Regions from separate parts of the Homo sapiens genome. Here region 1 is linked to region 2. Evidence: promoter capture Hi-C in human tissues and cell types (Jung and others, 2019). All regions are on one chromosome and are shown on one strand. Each heading gives the region's core, a stretch centred on a gene start or on the middle of the fragment in contact. The rest is flanking DNA. Distances are from core to core; before and after follow the strand shown. Region 1 overlaps ZNF346 (zinc finger protein 346). Region 2 holds the start of LMAN2 (lectin, mannose binding 2).

The links. Contacts are between HindIII fragments. The study calls those that stand out against the background at their distance.
Region 1: a contact is called between a fragment that was not itself captured here and the fragment with the promoter of LMAN2 in region 2, in 4 of the 25 tissues and cell types used here (IMR-90 fibroblasts, dorsolateral prefrontal cortex, lymphoblastoid cells and 1 more).

The regions. Positions count from the first base shown.
Region 1 is chr5:177,038,508-177,042,052 of GRCh38, reverse strand. ZNF346 (zinc finger protein 346) reads right to left here. Exons shown (of 7, transcript NM_012279.4): 2 at 824-927; 3 at 183-275. Among named protein-coding and RNA genes, the nearest start is that of ZNF346, 18 kb to the right of the region's middle. RefSeq lists a silencer at 3,314-3,363. The HindIII fragment of the contact is 3,815 bases long and covers 316-3,545 here.
Region 2 is chr5:177,349,523-177,353,285 of GRCh38, reverse strand. LMAN2 (lectin, mannose binding 2) reads left to right here and starts at 1,618. Exons shown (of 8, transcript NM_006816.3): 1 at 1,618-1,834; 2 at 1,995-2,113. The coding sequence starts at 1,639. RefSeq lists enhancers at 1,428-1,477, 1,488-1,677 and a silencer at 1,319-1,533. The HindIII fragment of the contact is 12,408 bases long and covers 1-3,763 here.

The DNA.
Region 1 (3,545 bases), core at 974-3,473, 310 kb after region 2:
GTTGATATTACCATCCTCATTTTTATAGAGGAAGAAATCAAGGCTTTGTGAAGTAATAGACTTGCCCGAGTCACACAACAGGGCCAGGATTTGAAGCCAAGACAGTCTGACTTGTTCACCACACCAACCTGCTGGCTGGCTTCATCATGAAGCAAGTGGGCTCAATATGGCAGCTGTATTACCTGATCTGAGTCTAGCTTCTTCGTTTCCCCCTTTAATGTCTCCATTCCATGGATTGCTAGGTATCTCTTCACTTTGTTGGCATGTTTTTTGCTCTGCAAAAACCCAGGAGAAAGATCAAAGATAGCCAAATGCTACTTCATACTTAAGGCACTCAAAAACACTTATGAGATTTTCATCTGATTCATCCTCACAAAAAGTTTTGAGGAGGAGGTGAGGGAAGTTTGAGTTCCTGCTCTGTGCAAGGCATTTTACAGCTACCAAATTTAATCTTCACAATCTATGAGAAAATTATGACCATTTCTATTTTATGGATGAGGAAACTACATCTAAAAATGATGAAGTTTCTTGCTCAAGATGAGTAGCAGAGTTTTGATTTAAAGTCAGATCTATTTAAAGCCAAAGCTCATACTTTATGCTATGCCAAGCTGCAAGGGAAGATACACATATAATGATCCTGATTTGGATGGGGGAGATGAGACTCAAGGAGATTAAGTCAATCTTCAAGTCACAAGCCAACATGCATGGAGGCAACATCTGGGTGGCTAAGCAGCAATTACACTTCACCATGCAAGCCAGAGAGAATTAGTGGTTTGGCACCAGGTCTGAAAAGAAACGCAGTTCTAAAAGTATGATGGCATACCTGGTAATGTGCCAGCTTCTGGGACTCAGAAATAAGCAAGGCGCAGCAAACCTTACACTGGGTGTTGGTGAAGAGACATTGGTTCTTCTGGATCATGTGCTCCACTATAGAGGGGAAAACAAGAAATCATTGAGTTGACAAACACTACCTCAACAGCACTGCCTTTGAACCCTGCCTCAAACACAGGCACTGAATGATGGGATGCCATACTAGGACACTGGCAGACCTCAGCCAGCCTTTCCTACTGCCACCGTGACTCATGCTGTGTTCTCACACCACCTACACTATTACTTATTTTATAATTTTATGTATGCCAACTTTCTTTACTTAGGAACTTCTTTTAAAAAGGAATCTTTAGATCATAAACTTAAGCAGATACCAATAAAAATAAATATGATAAAAATGAGGCTTGGAGCATTCCCCAGGAAGAAGAGAACAGCAACTGTGCTGAGAGGTTTTAAGATATGGTAGCACCCAACTGAAACTTCTTCCCAGATAGAATCAGGAGGACTGAAAGACTCGAAAAAGGAATACTTTTCTCATTGTTCTTGATCTGACTTTGAAACATTTAAAATCACATAACAGGGTGGGGCGTGGTGGCTCACGCCTGTAATCCTAGCACTTTGGGAGGCCGAGGTGGGCAGATCACCTGAGATCAGGAGTTCGAGACCAGCCTGGCCAACATGGTGAAACCCTGTCTCTACTAAAAATACAAAAATTAGCCAGGTGTGGTGGCAGGCACCTATAATCCCAGCTACTCGGGAGGCTGAGGCAGGAGAATTGTTTGAACCCAGGAGGCAGAGGTTGTAGTGAGCTGAGGTTGTGCCACTAACTCCAACTTGGGTGACAGAGCTAGACTCTGTCTCTAAATAAATAAATAAAATAAAATCACATAACGTATTATATAAGTGCCACACTATATGAAACATGGTATTAACCTGTGCTTAAATTATTGTGCCTGGAGAACAGTCTTACCTTTTTGAGAAGAGAAGAGGAGGTAAAATCTCTCCCAAGGCATAAGTTCATTTTTGTTTGTTTTTTTTTTTTTTGAGAGGGAGTCTCGCTCTGTCACCCAGGCTGGAGTGCAGTGGCATGATGTCGGCTCACTGCAAGCTCCGCCTCCCAAGTTCACACCATTCTCCTGCCTCAGCCTCCCGAGTAGTTGGGATTACAGGCACCCACCACCACGCCCAACTAATTTTTTTGTATTTTTAGTAGAGACGGGGTTTCATCGTGTTAGCCAGGATGGTCTCGATCTCCTGACCTCGTGATCCACCCACCTTGGCCTTCCAAAGTGCTGGGATTACAGGCGTGAGCCACCGCGCCCGGCCAAGGCATGAGTTCTATCATGGCGCTGGCAATGTGAGGCAGAGGCAGAGGCAGAGTCTAAAACTGGGAGAGGAGGGCAGGCCCACATTTTTAATCTCCTGGTCTCAGCCAAAAAGTGGTCAAGGCTAGGCACAGTGGCTCACACCTGTAATCCCAGCATTTTGGGAGGCTGAGGTGGGAGGATGGGTTGAGCCCAGGAGTTTGAGACCAGCCTGGGCAAGATGGTGAGACTCTGTCTCTACATAGAAACAAACACACCAACAAACCAAAAACTAGCCGGGGGTGGTGGCACATGCCTGTGGTTCCAGCTTCATGGGAGGCTAAGGCTGAGACAGAGACAGAAGGATTGCTTGAGCTCAGGAGGTCAAGGCTATGGCAAGCCATGTTAGTGCCACTGTACTCCAGCCTGGATAACAGAGCAAGCCCCTGTCTTAAAAAAAAAAAAGTCGATGCCCTGGAAGAGGTTCTTGGTGGGGAGCTTTTAAGATGTCTCTCCTTAATCCACAAAATCTAAAGCTTACCTATGTCAGCCCTTTTAGGCAGAAGGGCTGTATTTCTGCCCCTAATGATCTCTTTTTATTTCTGCATTTTTCTTTTAAATGGTAAATTTTTGTGAAAGACCTTGCCTGTCTTAGCTATGCTCTGAAAAACCAAGAGAAATGACTCTATAAACAAAATTGGCCCAGAACTTTTAAAAGAGGGTCAGAGGTGGCCAGGCACGATTGGTAATGCCTGTAATCTTAGCACTTTGGGAGGCCAAGGTGGGTGGATCATCTGAGGTCAGGAGTTTGAGACCAGCCTGGCCAACATGGTAAAACCCCATCTCTACTAAAAATACAAAACTAGCCGGGTGTGGTGAAGCATGCCTGTAATCCCTGCTACTTGGGAGACAGAGGCAGGACAATCACTTGAACCTGGGAGGCAGAGGTTGCAGTGAGCCGAGATTGTGCCATTGCACTCCAGCCTGAGCAACAGCAAAACTCGGACACACACACACACACACACACACACACACACACACACAAGAAGAAGAAGAAAAAAGAAGAAAAAAAAGAGGGTCAGAGGCTTCTCACAATAAGAAACCCACATGGGGAAGGTAATACCCAGGGGTCAGAGTTCAGTCATCACTTCCTCACCTGGAGATTGTGGATTTTGTTTTGTTCAAGAGATGAGGTTTCAAGCATATTCAGAATCAGACTCCCAAACCCACAGCAAGGGCAGGTAAGCACCTGCTAAATAAATGTACCTCTCTGCTGGAATGCACTCTCTGGCCTTAGAGAGTACATTCACATAGTCCACACAAATATATTTATAATACGTGCTTTGTGTCAACACTGCACTTAGTGCTGGGGGCCATACCAACAAAGAAGATGGGGTATAAAGTAAAAAATAA
Region 2 (3,763 bases), core at 369-2,868:
TGCCTAGATCTTTTGCTGCTGCTTCTTTTTTTTTTTTTTTGGGTAAAAAAACGGAAGTCTGGATTTCTTTTCTTCTTCTTCTTCTTCTTTTTTTTTTTTTTTGTAGAGACAGAGTCTTGCTCTGTCGCCCCGGCTGGAATGCAATGGCGTGATCTCTGCTCACTGCAACCTCTGCCTCCTGGGTTCAAGCAATTCTCCTGCCTCAGCCTCCCGAGTAGCTGGGACTACAGGTGTCCGCCACCACGCCGTTAATTTCTTTTGTATTTTAGTAGAGACGGGGTTTCACCGTGTTGCCCAGGCTGGTCTGAAACTCCTGAGCTCAGGTAATCTGCTCGCCTCTGCCTCCCAAAGTGCTAGGATTACAGGCCTCAGCCACTGAGCTCAGCCGGAAGTCTGGATTTCTGATGTGAATGTACATATTCCGACTTTGTGTGTGTGTGTGTGTGTGTGTGTGTGTGTGTGTGTGTGTGTGACAGAGTCTCGCTCTGTCGCCCAGGCTGGAGTGCAGTGACGCGATTTCGGCTCACTGCAAGCTCTGCCTCCTGGGTTCAAGCCATTCTCCTGGCTCAGCCTCCCGAGTAGCTGGGACTACAGACACCTGCCACCACGCCCGGCTAATTTTTTGTATTTTTTAGTAGAGACGGGGTTTCACCGTGCTAGCCAGGATGGTCTCGATCTCCCGATCTCGTGATCCGCCGGCCTCAGCCTCCCAAAGTGCTGGGATTACAGGCGTGAGCCACCACGCCCAGCCTCTATATTCTGACTTTAAAATACTGGTAGTTAAGCCATTTATTAGAATATTGGCAGGTAAAACAGAGCTCTATTCAGCTGCAGGCCACCAGTTTTCGACCTCTGATTCACAGCTTTCCTGGGCCTTCCATGGACGTTACTTGCTGTACCAGGCACTGCGCTCTTTTGCATAGGGATGAGTTCCAGTCATCACTGGGGTCCCAGGCCAGGATCTGTGTCTGTTCCTCTTGCTTCAACCCGACTAGGCCTGAGGAGTTGAGGGTAGTGGAGGCCCTCAAATAATTGGGAATTCTGAGTCTCCAAAGGCGCGAAGCTGGGGCGCCTGACGGCAGGCACGGCTTAAAGGCTTGCCCAGGGCCACCCGGGGAGGACAAGGGTTGGAATGCAGGACTCCGCCTTCAATTCAGAGCTCCTTTCTCCAGGACTAGAAAAGGTTATTCCAGAGACGGGACTTGCGGCCAGAAGCCCAAGACGTCCTAGTCTTCGCGAATCCGCCCCATTAGAGCGACCGACAAAAACTACAAATTCCAGCATGCCCCGAGTCGCGGACGGCCCTCGCGCTCCCGCCGGCTCCAACCATCCCTCTGCTCCTCATTGGCTCGCAAGCCTAACGTGCTGTTCCGTGACTGGTTACAGCTCTTGTCGCTCGAAAGAACCCATTGCTGGGGCTGGCCGGCGTGTGCCTTGGAGCCTCTAAGGAGATGAAACTGCACTCAACCAGGATGAGAGGCTGCCCGGCCAATGCAGCTGCCGCCCCGTCTGCTGCGGAGGCTTTGCTTTTTGACTCCCTGGCGACAGTAAAGTTGAAGAGCTTCCGGCCGGAGGCCAATAGATGGGACCCCCGGAAGGCGGAAGTTCTAGGGCGGAAGTGGCCGAGAGGAGAGGAGAATGGCGGCGGAAGGCTGGATTTGGCGTTGGGGCTGGGGCCGGCGGTGCCTGGGAAGGCCTGGGCTTCTCGGCCCCGGCCCTGGCCCCACTACACCTCTCTTTCTTCTTTTGTTGTTGGGGTCTGTGACTGCGGATATAACTGACGGCAACAGTGAACATCTCAAGCGGGAGCATTCGCTCATTAAGCCCTACCAAGGTGAAGCCCTTGGGGCGGGAATGAGTGAAGAGTGAGGGCGAGGCTGAACAGGGCTAGGGGAAGGCGTGCCCTTTCTCCTGAGCAGAGCATCTCTGTGGGTTTCCTGCCTCTGGTGAGGCCAGTCCTGGCGTGGCCTCTTAGCACCTGTCTCTTCCCACAGGGGTCGGTTCCAGCTCTATGCCCCTCTGGGACTTCCAGGGCAGCACTATGCTCACGAGCCAGTACGTACGTCTGACCCCTGACGAGCGCAGCAAAGAGGGCTCTATCTGGAACCACCAGGTGAGTGGTTCTCAAGAGGATAGGCGTACTGTGCGGTTGGCTGCTAGTCCCTGCCTCCCGAGCAGCTGAGACCCCAGCTTCGTTTATAGGTTTGCACCTCCGTCCCTGGCCTTTTCCTCATCTCGGTCACACCCACCAATAATAAGAGGCGATGGGTATTGGGTACTTACTATGTGTCAGGAGCTGCGCTTGACACTTTACATCCTCCTCACTTTAAAAGCCATGCGAGATGAGTAATGTTATCTCCATTTTACCCACTGAGAAGCTAAGACTCAGGTTTGAAAGGGCCTTACCCAAAGTTACATAGCCAGAAAGTAGTGGAACTGTCAGGCTGTCTGCCTTGAACCCCCTCAGTAATGGGAAGAACCGAGCGAACTGGATCTTTATTGGGTGTTTTGCTGTGTATTAGGCACTGACCTTGCCATGCCTTATTGCATTTAATTTTCAAACAAGCTGTTTGAAATAGATGGCTTTCATGACTATACAAAGATAACCCAGCTAGCAAATGTCATAAACAGTATTTAAACTCTGATTTGTCTGATCTCTAAGCCCAGCAGTTCACTCGATGTACTTGACTCTTTTCACCTGGACAGTGGAGGAACCCCTTAGAACCCTTTTTGCAATGCTTGGTTGAGGGTCTTGTCATCAGTAGTGTGGAGGGACTGGACCTGTGGGCAGTTCTAGTGTCTGTGACCTTTGCCTCAGAGTATGTAGTATGTAGTATGTGAGCAGTGGCCAATGACAGCTGCTACACAGAATCCACACTGAGGCAGTCAAGGTGAGGAAAAAGGGGAAAGAAGAATAATTTGGGGCTGGGTTACAGCTTGGAGCGGGACCTGCTCCTGCCCCAGCTTGCCTAATCTCAGCCCTTCCCATGGCTTAAGCTGTTGGCCAGTGTTCTAGTTTTCTCCATCACCCTGCTCTCTGATCCCTGCTGGTTGACTTTCTTGTTTAGTTCTGGGAACCCACACTGTCCTTGTGTTGCCTGGTCTGCCCGTCCCCTCTGCTCCTCCTCTCCTTCCTGCCCCGAGCCTCCACACTGCTGTTAGTGGCATCTGCGGATACTTTCTTCAGCTTTCAGTCTGATCCTCAGAGCGTGGAGTCCCCTGTGAAGGGGTAAGCATGCATTATGTCTGCACAATCTGGCCCCTTGTGCATCTCCAGTCATTCTCTGTGTTAATTTTGTTCCAGCCCCCCCTGGCTGCCTTCTTGCCTCAGGACCTTTGCACCTGTTGTTCCCTCTGTCTGGGACACTGCCTCCTGGCTCCTCATGCCTGCTTGGTTCCTTCTCATCTGTTAAGTCTCAATTCAAGTGCCACCCACGCAGACATTTCTTCATTAACCACCCTATCTCCCCCGAGTCACATTCTGTCACATTCTGTCTTAGGGCTTTCAGATATTTTAAAGAAATGATAATTCAGCCTTATATTTTTCATGGAAATGAGTTCAGTATAGCATTATTATTATTTTTTGAAAGCAAGGTGCAAACAGTGCTGGAACTGTAGAAATCAGGAGTAGCCACAAGTAATAGACGCATCTAAGACAGTGGCTTACATTTTGGTTGTAGATAGCTGATGGTTGGCATCATCAGTGGCTCGAGGATGTCACAGGACTGAGAGGCTTCTGCACTTGCCTTCATCGAATTTTCAG